5 separate regions of the Homo sapiens genome follow, and regions 1, 2, 3 and 5 are each linked to region 4. The links are contacts of gene promoters, found by promoter capture Hi-C in blood cells and fetal thymus (Javierre and others, 2016). All regions are on one chromosome and are shown on one strand. The core of a region is centred on a gene start or on the middle of the fragment in contact, and the rest is flanking DNA. Distances in the headings are between cores, read along the strand shown. Region 1 overlaps PIP5K1B (phosphatidylinositol-4-phosphate 5-kinase type 1 beta). Region 2 has its middle 35 kb from the start of PIP5K1B. Region 3 has its middle 15 kb from the start of PIP5K1B. Region 4 holds the start of PRKACG (protein kinase cAMP-activated catalytic subunit gamma). Region 5 overlaps PIP5K1B (phosphatidylinositol-4-phosphate 5-kinase type 1 beta).

Region 1 (2,700 bases), core at 27-2,526, 300 kb before region 4:
ATTCTGAGGGGTTAAAGTACTGTAAGGTACATGTCAGGGCTTACTTGAATATTCTAATTGTAAGCTCATAACTTTTTTTTTTTAGCTTTATGGTTTGCATAAAGTAAGTGCTCAGTAAATAGCTGTTGAATTAATGAAGGGGGTGAATGAAGTCATTCATAAGGAAAACATATGCTGTAAAACATAGAAAGCATCTTACCATGTAAATTCCCAACACATAAGATAATTTGCCTACAGGCATGTGCCTCCTGAAGCTGGCGGGTACAGAGCCCATTGTTGCTCTCTTTTCTGAAGGCATCATATAGGGAAGAGCTTTTCTTTCTCCCTAGACAGTAGACTCATGTCATCTATGTTATGCTCTTTTGTTTGCCGCCCCCCCGCCCCTTTAGTTGTTAGTATTACAGCTGCTGAAAGATACATTCCTAGAAATTGACTTGTCCCATTTTATGAAAGGGTATGTCTTGACATGGGGAAACCAACCATTCTGTTTTTAAAACAGGGTATTGAATAAATTTCAGGAGATGCTAATACTGTCTCGTGGTTTCAGAGGGGGAACCTAGTTAACAAAACCAACCTAGTTTCTGTTCCTTTTAACAATCTTCTCTTTCTACTCCTCCTCTTTATATACAGACAAGTAGTGTTTTTATGTTTGGAAGAATGATAAGAAAGAATATAGTGATCTTAAATATTATTAATGGATCTGCAATTTACATTGGGGATTGATGTATGTTTCCTTCTGATAAAGAATTTAAATATTAATTAGTTTAGAAGTACCGTTTATGGGTAAGAAAACTAAAACTTAGGTGAATTGACTTACTTATGGTCACAAAGATGATAGCAGGAGGACCAAGATCAATGTGGAATTCTTAAGAAGGTTCATATTTGAGTTTGTCCCAGGAGTTCTATGGTGAAGGTACAGTTTTGACTTTTAGAAATCATAGAGATTAACAGAAAACTTCTGTTTACTATCATTATTAGAGAGTTAGTACATTTGAAAATGGTTTAGCATTTATATGTTTAAGTTTTCTTGCCCAAGCAGATGCCATTAAAAATAACATGTTTTTTTCTCTTTACTTTTTTTTTGTTTTTTGAGTCAAGGTCTCATTCTGTTTCCCAGGCTGGAGTGCAGTGGCCCAACTCCAGCCTCAACCTCCCCAGGCTCAGGTAATCCTCCCACCTCAACTTCCTGAGTAGCTGCAACAACAGGCACGCACTACCATGCCTGGCTAATTTTTGTATTTTTGGCAGAGACAGGGTTGCACCATGTTGCCTAGGCTGGTCTGTAACTCGTGGATTCAAGCAATCCACAGGCATCGGCTTCCCACAGTGCTGGGATTACAGGTGTGAGACCCTGTGCTCGGCCAAAATGTTTGTTTTTATCTATTCACTATGATTCTTCTGGCTTATGTGCATCACCAGACTCAGAAATAATACTTTGCTCCAATCAGTGCTGGGAGAGAGGAAACTGTTCAAATAGAAACCAAAGACCTGTAATCCCATGGGAGGCCGAGGTGGGCGAATCACTTGAGCCCAGGAGTTTGAGACCAGCCTGGGCAACATAGCAAGACCCCATCTATGCAAAAATAAAAAATTAGCTGGGTATGGTGGCACGTGCCTGTGGTCCCAGCTACTTGGGAGGCTGAAGTGAGAGGATCACTGGAGCCTAGGAGTTCAAGGTTGCAGTGAGCTATGATCGCACCACTGTACTCTAGCCTGGGTGACACAGCAAGGCCTTGTCTCAGAAAAGAAAGGAAAAGAAACACAAATGTATGCTGGTATTCTCAACTTCTCTTCCTGATATATAAAGCCAGAAGCCAAAGGTAGCCTTGTCATGCAGCTGGTAAAGTCATAAATATGTATACATTCAATTTGCATTTGCATTTTGCTTGTACTTCTGTTAGATGGTGAGTCAGAACATTTAATATCCTGGAAATTTTTTTTTCCCCCTATGGCCAGAGCCTTCAGTAGATTCTGTAAAACATCAAGTCCTAAATGTATTTGTTGCTGAAACATGTTCTCTTTGTATCAAGTGCATTAATGGGAGTTGGAAGGAATCCTTCATTTTTTTTTAGAAGCTGGCCAGTTAGAACTGTACATTATGTAGCTCTACTGTTCATTTGTGGTCTTATCAATAGAGCAGGATGTGTTACTTTTTGCTGAGTGCCAGAGAACTGGGGTGGGAGGAAACCTAGGCTTCTGTTTTATTTTTTTTCTTTTTAAAAATCAACTTTAAACTTAATTTATGATGAAATTTTTGGGGTACTGTGTCGTAAACAATCAGCTGCTATTGACAGAGAATTGTATTCAGTCAGGTTCCTTTTCATATATAAGATTAGGTCAGGGAAAACAGGCTTGCTTTTGTACATTCTATTCTCAATTGTATTTACTTCTGTATCGCTTCATCAGAGGTATATAAAGGAGATAATCACACAGGAAAACACAGGAATCCTGCCCAAACTAGATTACTCTTGGAAAGATTTGAAACAGAGTGATTGGGACAAGGTTGCATGTTCAGTAAGCTGACAGTGCCTTGGTATTATCATTTTAAGTTAAAACAAACTAGCACTGGAATAAACAACATGAAGTGTGTGTTCTTGTAGGAAGTCTTCTGTATTGTTTATGGGACTCAATAAACAATGAATATGTAACATGTTTGGGTAATTTACATGATGGATGCACAGTAAGTTCTTGAGACTCATT
Region 2 (2,700 bases), core at 74-2,573, 340 kb before region 4:
CTTCAAAATGGTTAAGATGGTAAATTTAAGTTATGTGTATTTTACCACAGTTGTTAAAAAAAAAATGTTTAAAAACCACTGATCTCAATAAACACAACAACAACAACAAAAGCTGTTGTAGCAGGAACTGTGACCCTCCTCATTGGTGCTATCTTTTTGCAGGGTCTGGTGCTCACTGTGTGTAATCGTGACTGCGGGGACCCGCCTATCGGAGTAAATATGTAAAAGGAGGTGAAGAGGTGGGCCTGATCCCTGGCCCGAGGAGTGAATTCAGGCAAAGCCCTTGATGTCTTTGTGCCTAAGTGTCTCTCCAGTTGAGGAAAACAGTCGCTGTTGTTAAGCCTCCTGGGTAGATGCCAAAAGAATGGCCACTCATGAGGAAGAGGGCTGCATTAGGCTGAGAAAGCCGCAGGAAGTGACTGAGAGGGAAGAGAGAAAGGTCAGTGTGTTTGTTGTGTGAAGAGTTGGAGGTCAGTTCTAAGAGACAGAAAAGCAATAAAATCTGGAGATGGAAAATAGCTAGGAAGGAAGTAAGAAATGAAAAGACCCGTGGCGCATACCACTGGCAAAGATGCTTCCTGGCAACAGGTTTCTCAGACTTTGTCCATGAACTCCTGCGGGCCTTCGGACAGACTCTTGGGGATCCTCAATTCTCAACAAAAATTTTCTAATGTTATTTTTTTCTGATTAGGATAATCAAAAAGTGATTTAAGTATGTTCTGCATATGACATTTATGTATGTATAATTGTTAAGCAATTTCCACAAATTAGAGATTTTGACTTTTACTGACTTTTAGTGTCTGAGCACTATTATTATGGATAGCTATGTTCCAATGTCAAATTGTCAGGAAGAAGGCTGTGCCCACCTCTCTCCTCATATCAAAATCCTGTCTGGTGATGATTTGCCATCACAAAACCTATTTCTATAGTAATATTTTAGTCTCTCATGTTATTCAATAACTTGAGACTTTTAGATTTGCCATCATTTACACTAACATACTGTGGTCAAGCAGTAACATACGGCTGCGACTGTTCTAGTGGATGTGAAGTGTAAATGAGGTGCTACAGCCAATGAATGGCCAAAGGACATGGGACTCCTCTGGATGAGCAAAGCTTTCACAGGAGTTTAAATATCCTAGGTAAAGTCAAAGTGACTGCGATAGAAAGAAAACTTGACTGAAGATCAAATTATTCATAAAATTCTATTTCTGATATGTACAGGATTCTGTCAATATTCTTATCAACTCTTTAATAAAACTAGAAATTTGTTTTTGACATCTGCAAGGAAAAAAAGAACCCAGATATGCTGATGCCACCAATAACTAAATTAGACAAACACATTTAGTACACATTTGGTAATTCAGTAAAGCTAAGAAATTTTAAGAGAATGTAACTTTTCAGAGTCTATAAAGCAGTGTAACATTAGAATTGCTTTTTTGTTTTGTTTTCTTTTTTCTTTTTTTCTTTGTTTATTTTAAAATTGCTTTTTAACTTAGGTTAACTATAAGGTATAATAACCCTGAATTAGCAAACAAAAGCTTATTGTTATTAATACTGTTTTGTACAAAATATTTTGCAAATAGGCATTATTCACACTGATATTGTTGAAATAAAAAAACAAGAGCAGGGTAAATGTAGATATGGACTTGTTTTCTTTTTAGTACTAAAGCCTACATCGACAATTTAGTTTTAGCCAAGCAATAATTTCTGTAAAAATAATTTAATATTGTAAATATGAAATTGATTGCTTTTCTTGTTTTGGTTTGCATTTATACTCCTTGCCCTTTTTTCTAGTATGTAAGAGCTACGAGCACAATGAGAATACACCTAGGCTTACTTGTACTTAAATAACATTACAATATAAGTGCTTAAGAGAACCCTAGGAGGCCTATGAGAATTTGTTTTCTCAGAAGTGCTTTGCACATCACTCAAGCTAGACAAATACTGTTTTAGAAACACAGAGGAAGGCAACATCAATGTAGCCTGGGTTGTCAGTGTCAAAAGACCATTCTTCATGGGATTCTTGTTTCCATATATCTTGTGAGCGGAGGCATGGACTATCTTTGTTCTTGGCTAACTTTTCAAGGATTTTTGTATAGTAAACACATTGAGAGAGAGAGGTAATGTCTTTCTAGGAAGCATCAAGCATTGGAGTTTAGAGATAGTAAAAGGGAAGCGTGTTTACCATCCATTATAAAACATGAGGCTGTCCTAAGTTCTCTCTATTCCTCTCCTTATAGTGCAGCTTACTGTGTGTGCTGGTGTCACTTGACCCTCTCCACATTACCCCAGGGGCATCAGGACTTGAAGAACTGGCCCAAAAATGCTGCTACTCTGGCTACTACCATTGCTGTGAGTTAAAAACTGTCCTTTGTCTCTGACCCAGGAGTTCTATGCCTTCTACCAGCATCCATGAAACTTGGCTGGCTAAATTGTTAGCTTTCCAGTAGCTATTATGAAATCTCAGGCCCTTTGTGATTATTTTTTTGTTTGTTGGTTTGGGTTTTGTACATATTTATGGGGTACATGTGACATTGTGTCACATGCGTAGAATGTGTACTTCTACTTCAGGATGTTTAGGAGATCCATCACCATAAACTTTACCATTTCTATGTGTTGAGAACATTTCAAGTTCTCACTTCTAGCTACAATACATTGTTGTTAACTGTAGTCACCTTACTCTACAATTGAATATTACTG
Region 3 (2,700 bases), core at 93-2,592, 320 kb before region 4:
AAAATGACAAGTATATTGCATCAGTCAGAGCCCAACCAGAGAAAGAGAACTAGTGAGAGATATATATTAAGAGGTTTATTCCAAGGAACTGGCTTGTGTGTGATTGTGGAGGCTGGCTAGGCATGTCTGAAATCCATAGGGGAGACTGTCAGGAAGGGCAGGCTGGAACCATCAGTCCTAAGCTGAAGCTTGGTTCACAGGTGGGATCTCTTCTTCTCCAGGGAATCCTTGGCTATGCCTTTCAATTGCCTTTCTAATGCCTTTCAACCAATTGAATGAAGTCCATTCAGATTATCTAGGCTAATCTTCTTTACTTAAATCCAATTGATTACAGGCTTTAATCACACCTACAAAATACCTTCACAGAAACACCTAGTGTTTAACTGATTAACTGATCTAGCCACGCTGACATGTAAAACTAGCAAATGTATCCACATATATATCCACAAAGATAAATCTCATATATCCACAAAGATAAATCTCATAAATGTAATGCTGAACAACAATTAAAGTTGCAAAATCATACATAAGATAAGGTAACACTTATATAAAGGTTTAAAATGGGCAAAAAATTTAACAAAGTTTATGAATATATGGATATATAAAAACATGTAAAGGAATGATAAAGTTACTTTATGTTACTGAGTGCCACTGGGAAGGAAGGAAAGGAGTGAAATTGGGAGTAGTTTTACTGTATCTATAATATTCTGTTTGTTTGTTTGTTTGTTTGTTTTTAAAGGCAAGAGACTCCAAAGTAAATCAGGCATACAAAAATCTTATAAAACCTGGCCCTGATATTGTAATTGCTTATTGTATTATTGTTAATACTTGGGTGCGTGTGTGCAATCTTGCACAATCATTATTTTTTAAAAAGCATCATGATTAACCCCCTTTGCACAAGCCTAAAAAGTGGTGTTTATACTGGGTGGTCAACTTTGATTCAGAACTACACTGGATAGGACCAGACAGTAGAGGCTTCTTTTTTGTTTTCTAAATGCTAAACAACACTTTGGTGGATGCTCTGGGTTTTCTTTCATGGTCCAGTGTTTCAGGGAATGAACCTCACCTCCTGGGAGTTGAGCCTGGAAAATCACAGCATTCATCATGCTCCAGCCTGTGCCCAGTGGAGAGCACAGAGCAGGGTGAGTCATTCTTACTTGAGCCCCGACCTTGGCTGACCTTCGTAGTGCCAAGGTCTGGAGCCAAATGAAACTCCTGACTTAAGGAGCTAGAGATAAAGAGGCGGGTGGCTGGTCACATGGTACGTGGCCGCTGATGGAATGTGACTTGTCAGACCCCCCCCAGGGGGCTTTCAGTAGGGCCTGCATTTGTATTTATTATACCAAGAGACATAATGCTGAGAGTTCTTCCTGAAGAACGTCAGACTTCTGATTTAAGAAGTGGTTGTATACAGATCCAAAGGTTGTAATCTGCAACATGCCTGCAGAAATTTATCAACTGACATTTTTGTATGGCATGCCAACGTAAGTCTTTTTGCAAAAATTAAACTCTTTTAGGATTAAAAAGAACACATGCTATTTGTAAAAATTTGGAATATGTGAAAAGCTAGAGAGAAGAAAACAAACCTCTGAAGCTCACTACCCAACATTATCAGTGATTATCTTTTAGCCTTTTTTTCCCGGTGTCATACTTTTTTCTGTAGTTAATGTACCCTTTCAACAATGGTTATTGAGCACCCAGCAAGTACCAGGCTTTATTCTCGGTGCTAGAGATATGGAAATGTACAAAACAGCCAAGGTCCCTGCTCTTGGGGAGCTAATAAGAAAGAAGGGTAGACTAACCATTGAAAATCAGTATATAAATATACAAGATACATTTAGATACAAAATGGTATTATGGAAAAAATGATACCTAATAATACCGAAGACTTATAATGTGCTATTCTAAGCCTTTCACTCATGTGTATCAATACATTGAATAAAACTGATGTCTGTGTGTGTGTGTGTGTGTGTGTGTGTGTGTGTGTGTGTGTGTGTGTGTGTGTGTTAGAGGGAAGGTTAGGCTATTACAGGAAATCTTTCAATGCAATGATCAGGAATGTCCTATTGAAGAAGACAACGTAGGAACGAAGGTTTACTTAAAGGGAAAAAGATGGCCATGGAAGACCCAGATTGAGAGCCTTCCCAGCAAAGGGAACAGCAAGTTTAAATACCTTGAGCATAAAATAGTTTGGCATGTTCATGAAACAGAAAAAAGTATGTCTGGGACTTCAAGGAACAAAAGGCAGAAAGGTCTGCAATGAAACCAAAGATTGTCCTTTTTGGGTTCTCCAGGGAACTCTTGAGAGCAGCAGAAAAAGGCATTTTTTTTTTCCAGTGGTTTCATTCTCTTCTTATCCCACCCACTACTTTCACACTCTCATTTCTGTATGAGGAAAGGGCTGAGCTTTTGTTGCAGCTGCTACTCTTGGAACAGTTGAGACCATTAACTCACATCTCCTGCACCTGACATGCCAGCATCCTACAGGCAGAATTTAAAGCTTCGGGGTCCTCTTTGCTAAAATGCTACCCACACTTAAGTCCACACAAAGTTGAAGGCAGCTTTGCAATTGAGTTTTACCAACAATCTTAGGACCCACATTATTAATTGCTACACAGCAACCACTCCTCACTCAGCACTTCTTCCTCAGCTGAGAGGCTTCCCTCTACTGTAAAGGCTAATGATGCCAAATATTTTTTT
Region 4 (2,700 bases), core at 2-2,501:
TTTCTGTTCCTCCAAATATCTGGGCTTCCTGCTCCCCCAACCCTGGAGGGTGGGGTGAGGATGAAATTAGATACAAGGAACTCTGGGGCCCTCTGGCTGTTCAATCCAACCCTCCCATCCCCCAAACCACCAAAAACAAAAAGGAAAGAAAACCCACAGGGGCACAAGCACACCCCTAAAACTCAGAAAACTCCTTGGCACACTTCTCATTGATGGAGATCCGGAGCTCTTCCTCCTCGTAGTCGTCAAAGTTACTGGCATCCCCAGGGCCTGTGTACTTCGGGATGAAGGGAGCTTCCACCTTCTTCTCATAGATGGCGATCCAGCTGGTTGTGGCGAACCACTTGTGGTTCTTGATGTCGCCAACCCCGTTCCTGAGGTTTCCGAAGCGCTTGGTGAGGTCCACCTGCAGCAGGCTCCGCAGCAGATGCTTGAGGTCAGAGCTGAGTTTGGAGGGAAACCGCACCCTCCCAGAGACGATCTTCTCGTAGATCTGGATGGGCTGGTCGGCGTAGAAGGGTGGGAAGCCCACGGCCATCTCATAGATGAGCACCCCTAGGGCCCACCAGTCCACGGCCTTGTTGTAGCCTTTGCTCAGGATGATCTCGGGGGCCAGGTACTCTGGGGTCCCGCACAAGGTCCAAGTGCGGCCCTTCACGCGCTTGGCGAAACCGAAGTCCGTCACCTGCAGGTAGCCCTGCTGGTCGATGAGGAGATTCTCGGGCTTCAGGTCGCGGTGGATGAGGTCGAGCGAGTGTAGGTACTGGACGGCCAGGACGACCTGGGCGGCATAGAAACAGGCATGGGGCTCGCTAAACCTTCCGACGCGCTGTAGGCGGGAGAACATCTCCCCACCCGGCACGTACTCCATCACCAGGTACAGGTAGGAGTTGTCCTTAAAGGAGAACTGGAGCTTGACGAGGAACGGAAAGTCGATCGCCTGCAGGATGCGCTTCTCGTTCAGTATGTGCTCGACCTGCTTCATCTTCACCACCTTCTGCTTGTTGAGGATCTTCATGGCGTAGTGGCCGCCGGTCTCCTGGTGCCTCACCAGCATCACCCGCCCGAAGGAGCCCATGCCCAGCGTCCTGAGCCGTTCGAACTGATCCGAGCTGGCGGTGTTTTGAGCGGGGTTTCCCCATCTGTAGAGGAAATCTCCTCTGGCTTTGGCTAGGAACTCGTTCACGCTCTCCTCCTGCTCGGTGTCCTTCTTGGCGGGGGCGTTGCCCATGGCGGTGGCGGCGGCAGGGGCGGGGGTCTCGCGGCGGCGGCGGCGGCGGCGGCAGCGGCGGAGATGGCGCCCCCTGGGGCTGGCTGCGCTGGCTGCGGCGCTGCGACCCCCGCCCGGCCTCCGCTTATATTCCCAGCTACATGGGAGGCTGAGATGGGAGGATTTCTTGAGCCTGGGAGGTCAAGGCTTCAGTGAGCCAAGATCACGCCGCTGCACTCAACAATATGGATAAATCCAAAAGGCATTATGCAAGTGAGAGAAGCCAACTCTAAAGGAGACTTACTGTATGAATCCATTTCTATGACATTCCAGAAAAGGCAAAACTATAGTGTGAGAGAACAGATCAGTGATTGCCAGGGCTTGGGGTTAGGGGACGGTTGGACTATGAAGGGACAGCCTGAGGGAATGTGGGAAGTGGTGGGACATGTTTGTATCCTGATTGTGCTGGTGGTTACAATGTATTGGGTGGTGGTCTACATTTGTTTTAAAACTCATAGAACTGGCCGGGCGCAGTGGCTAAAGCCTGTAATCCCAACACTTTGGGAGGCCGAGGCGGGCGGATCACAAGGTCAGGAGTTCGAAACCAGCCTGACCACCATAGTGAAACCCCGTCTCTACTAAAAATACAAAAAAATTAGCCAGGCGTGGTGGCGCATGCCTGTAATCCCAGCTACTCGGGAGGCTGAGGCAGGAGAATTGCTTGAACCTGGGAGGCAGAGGTTGCAGTGAGCAGAGATCGTGCCACTGCACACCAGCCTGGGCAATAAGAGTGAAACTCCATCTCAAAAACAAACAAACAAACAAACAAACACCTCAAAGAACTGTATACTTCCCCCCAAAATTCAGTTTTACTGCATGTAATGTTTTATTTTAACACATACATATGATTTCCTTTCTTCTGTTTGCTTTGGGTTTAATTGCTCTTATTTCCTAAGGTGGGAACTAAGGTCACTGATTTGAAATCTTTCTTCTATTACAATCACTTAGTGCTATAAATTTCCTCCTAAGTATTATTTTTTGCAGCATCCCACAAATTTTGGTATGTTGTATTTTCCTTTTCATCCAGCTCAAAATATTTTCTAAGCTCCCTTTTCATCTTCTTTGACAGATAAGCTATTTAAAAGTATATTATTTCGTTTCCAAATACTTGGGGATTTTTCAAGAATTTTCCTATTGATTTCTGATTTAATTCCATTGTTAGAAAACATACTCTGTGTGACCTAAAATGTTTTACACTTCTTGGGGCTCATTTTATGGCCCAGAATATGATCTATCTTGGTAGATGGCCCATATGCACTTGAGAAGAATGTATATTCTGGTGTATTCTGCTGTTTGAGGATACAGTGTTCTACAAATGTCACTTAGGTCAAGTTGGCTAGTAGTAGTGTTCAGGTCTTCTATATTCTTATTGACTTTCTGTTTACTTATTCTATCAATTATTAAAAACATGCCACAGGAGTTTATGAGAA
Region 5 (2,700 bases), core at 18-2,517, 270 kb before region 4:
TGCCTCAGCCTCCTGAGTAGCTGGGACTACATTTCCATGCCACCATGCCTGGCTAATTTTTTATTCCAGTATAAAGTTGGGGTTTCGCTATGTGCCCAGTCTGGTTTCAAACTCCTGGGCTCAAGTGATCATCCTGCCTCAGCCTCCCAAACTGTTGGGATTACAGGCACGAGGCAGGCTTGGCCCAAAATGTCTTTTAATGTCAGTTTTGAATGAGCTTTCATAAGAACACTGCATATGTGTGAGGAGAAATCCCTTTCACATGGTGTAGATTTGGTAAGCAATATTTCCAATATCAGAAAGACTTGGTCAGTGTATGTTGATTTGCCAAAACCCACTGGCATATAAGGATGCTGTGGCTGTTGACTTTTCACATTTGCTTAACCAAAGTGCCAGTTTATTGAAGATGAGTTCTGTGTCATGTTTTACTGCCCTGCATGTTAAGATTTGCTTTTCATGACACTAAGACAATGGGAGATTGAATGGGTGGAGTTAAAGAGGCCCCTGTCCTTCTATTGATTCTCCTTGGGTTTCCTGCTGAGTATGGGTTGAGGCTCTGGCCTTCTCAACTGGGTGCCAGATGAATGTACCGGGAATCCTGTTAGGGTGACATCTAAGAAGAAGACTCATAAAGCACAATATTGGGAACTCAATCAGAGCTTGTTTCAGGAGGATCAGGGCTGAGCTTAGTGGGGGTTCTTGGTGATAGGGATTCCTTCCTGAAACACATTTGTCTTCCTGGAAAAGGAGGAAGGTGTAAGAACGAGAACCACTGATGTATGCAGGAGGTCCGTAGCCTCAGTTGCCATAGATACTGAAGGCTCTGCATGGCCTGGCCAAGGATGGACAATGTTACAAGGTGGACCCACAAACCACAGTGATCTTCATCCTCAAGCTGGGGCATGCTGGGCCTCATTTTTGGAAAGTACATTTTCCACGAGATGTGCTAACACAATGGGGTTCTATGTATAATCTGCCTTGAACAAATAGGTTTCATGGGAGGCCACGAAAAAACAACTTCATCAAGTCTCCCACTCTCCCATTAAAATTTATTCAGTGGAAAGCATTTCCCCTGTTTTTTGGATGAAAACATATCACGTGGCTATTCTGATTCCTCATATATAATAAAAAGCCCCACTTTAATTTGCCAGATATTTAAAATGTCTAGTATCATGGGATAGTTAAAGCTTCCAGCTTCATTCATATTTATAACTGCTCCCCTTCCCCTGGCTAGGGCCTGTTGCAGGGAGAGGGGGCTGTGGTTGGAGGCTTTTTCTCTTGCTTACTCAGTAGCTATGACTTCTGGACTGGGGTGAGGGGCTGGGTGGGGAACAGGAAGGAGTGTAGGAAAGCTTTTACTAGGCAGGCGGTATCATAGGAGAGCTCTTTTTGTGTTGTGGGTGTTTAGAGTTGATTCTTTCTCTTGTGGGGCCCTTTTGTGGGTTCTTTGGAGATACCCTCTCACCTTGTCTCTGGGGGCCTCTCACCTCCAATTTCCTTGGTGGGGCTGCTGCACTCTCTTCAGCCTAATTGCAGACTGTTTCCACAGTCTCTAGAAAGCCCACCAATCCATTCGTACTCCTGTCTGCTGGGTTCTATTGCTGTCCAGGTGGCCCTTGTTGGGAAGACCCTAATATATAGCCCTGTACATATGCTCATGGTGTGGTCCATGGGAAACACTCACACTTCCTTTGTTCCCACCAACTGGGAGAGGGCAGGCTGCTCCCAGGGCAACTGTCGTTTCCTTTGGCTTGTCCGTCAGCATCCAGCCAGCTCTCCAGTTCTTCAGATTTCTTAGGCAGAAGTCCCAAACAAGGTCACAGTGCCTTCCACATCGTAAGAGCCTCATGCTCTCCAGGTAGTCCTGTTGAGCCCCCTCATGAGGCTGGAAGGGGGAGAAGCAGGGAGGGGCAGGTACTCTTATCTCTTCCTAAGCTTAGTCCTTTAGGCTAGGACCAGACTGGACTGCAGCCTGCTTGCTTCAATCATTCTCTCCTTTTAGCCACCAACAAGCAGTCTGACCTACTTGTAGCCACACCGTAGGTAAGAGGTTTAAGACCAGTGAAAAAGGTTTTGGGCTATGTTCTTTGAAAAACTGCATCTAGGCCTGGCACTTCACTTTGGAACCTGGTATCTCATCCATCTTAGCGGCTTGTTTGACACATCCCATTTTGACATTCTGTAATACTTTCTTGGGAAGCAGGGCTTATCCTTAGCTCTTGGAGATGCACATGACACACAGCATAGAAAAGGCTCCTGGGAGTAGACAGGAATGTCCACTTCACTCCAGCCTCTTCCTCTCCTGCCCTCCATCCTGCTCCAAGGGCCTGTGCTCCACCTGAATCTTCCATCCAGGAAGCTCCCTCTCTGCTGCCTGCTCCCACTCTGTGTTGCCAGCTCCTTCTGTTCCTTTAGGATTCCTTAATGTTCCTTCCTTAGTAAAGACTTCTTTGTTCAAACCCCACCTAAGTAGATCTCCCCTAATTTTCTGTTTTCTGTTACCGCAATTCCCTTTATTTCCCTCACAGTACATCTTATATTATAAATGATAACGTTTCCAAATAAATTATACAAGCTATTTAGTGTCTTACTCTCACATCAAATGGTAAGCCCCATAAAGGAAAATTCATGTCTGTTTTATTCGGAAACTAACCAGTGCTCACTAAATATATGTTGAATAAATGAATGAAAGCATGAATT

The links. The method cuts DNA at HindIII sites, captures the fragments that hold promoters and counts their contacts. A CHiCAGO score of 5 or more calls a contact.
Region 1: a contact is called between a fragment that was not itself captured here and the fragment with the promoter of PRKACG in region 4, in 8 of 17 cell types (erythroblasts, megakaryocytes, monocytes and 5 more). The highest score is 17.5, in erythroblasts.
Region 2: a fragment that was not itself captured here is called in contact with the fragment with the promoter of PRKACG in region 4 in 12 of 17 cell types (M1 macrophages, megakaryocytes, M0 macrophages and 9 more); the score reaches 14.3 in M1 macrophages.
Region 3: a contact is called between a fragment that was not itself captured here and the fragment with the promoter of PRKACG in region 4, in 10 of 17 cell types (erythroblasts, megakaryocytes, M1 macrophages and 7 more). The highest score is 16.8, in erythroblasts.
Region 5: a contact is called between a fragment that was not itself captured here and the fragment with the promoter of PRKACG in region 4, in 12 of 17 cell types (erythroblasts, megakaryocytes, M1 macrophages and 9 more). The highest score is 11.8, in erythroblasts.

The regions. Positions count from the first base shown.
Region 1 is chr9:68,708,170-68,710,869 of GRCh38, forward strand. All of the region lies in intron 1 of PIP5K1B (phosphatidylinositol-4-phosphate 5-kinase type 1 beta), which reads left to right. Among named protein-coding and RNA genes, the nearest start is that of PIP5K1B, 4.3 kb to the left of the region's middle. The HindIII fragment of the contact is 4,887 bases long and covers 1-2,700 here.
Region 2 is chr9:68,669,048-68,671,747 of GRCh38, forward strand. No RefSeq gene overlaps it. Among named protein-coding and RNA genes, the nearest start is that of PIP5K1B, 35 kb to the right of the region's middle. RefSeq lists an enhancer at 34-586. The HindIII fragment of the contact is 425 bases long and covers 1,112-1,536 here.
Region 3 is chr9:68,689,060-68,691,759 of GRCh38, forward strand. No RefSeq gene overlaps it. Among named protein-coding and RNA genes, the nearest start is that of PIP5K1B, 15 kb to the right of the region's middle. The HindIII fragment of the contact is 2,312 bases long and covers 187-2,498 here.
Region 4 is chr9:69,012,862-69,015,561 of GRCh38, forward strand. It overlaps PRKACG (protein kinase cAMP-activated catalytic subunit gamma), which reads right to left and starts at 1,252. Exons shown (of 1, transcript NM_002732.4): 1 at 1-1,252. The coding sequence starts at 1,231. The coding sequence ends at 176. The HindIII fragment of the contact is 8,295 bases long and covers 1-2,700 here.
Region 5 is chr9:68,743,315-68,746,014 of GRCh38, forward strand. The region is part of intron 2 of PIP5K1B (phosphatidylinositol-4-phosphate 5-kinase type 1 beta); the gene reads left to right. Among named protein-coding and RNA genes, the nearest start is that of PABIR1, 35 kb to the right of the region's middle. RefSeq lists a silencer at 715-909. The HindIII fragment of the contact is 165 bases long and covers 1,186-1,350 here.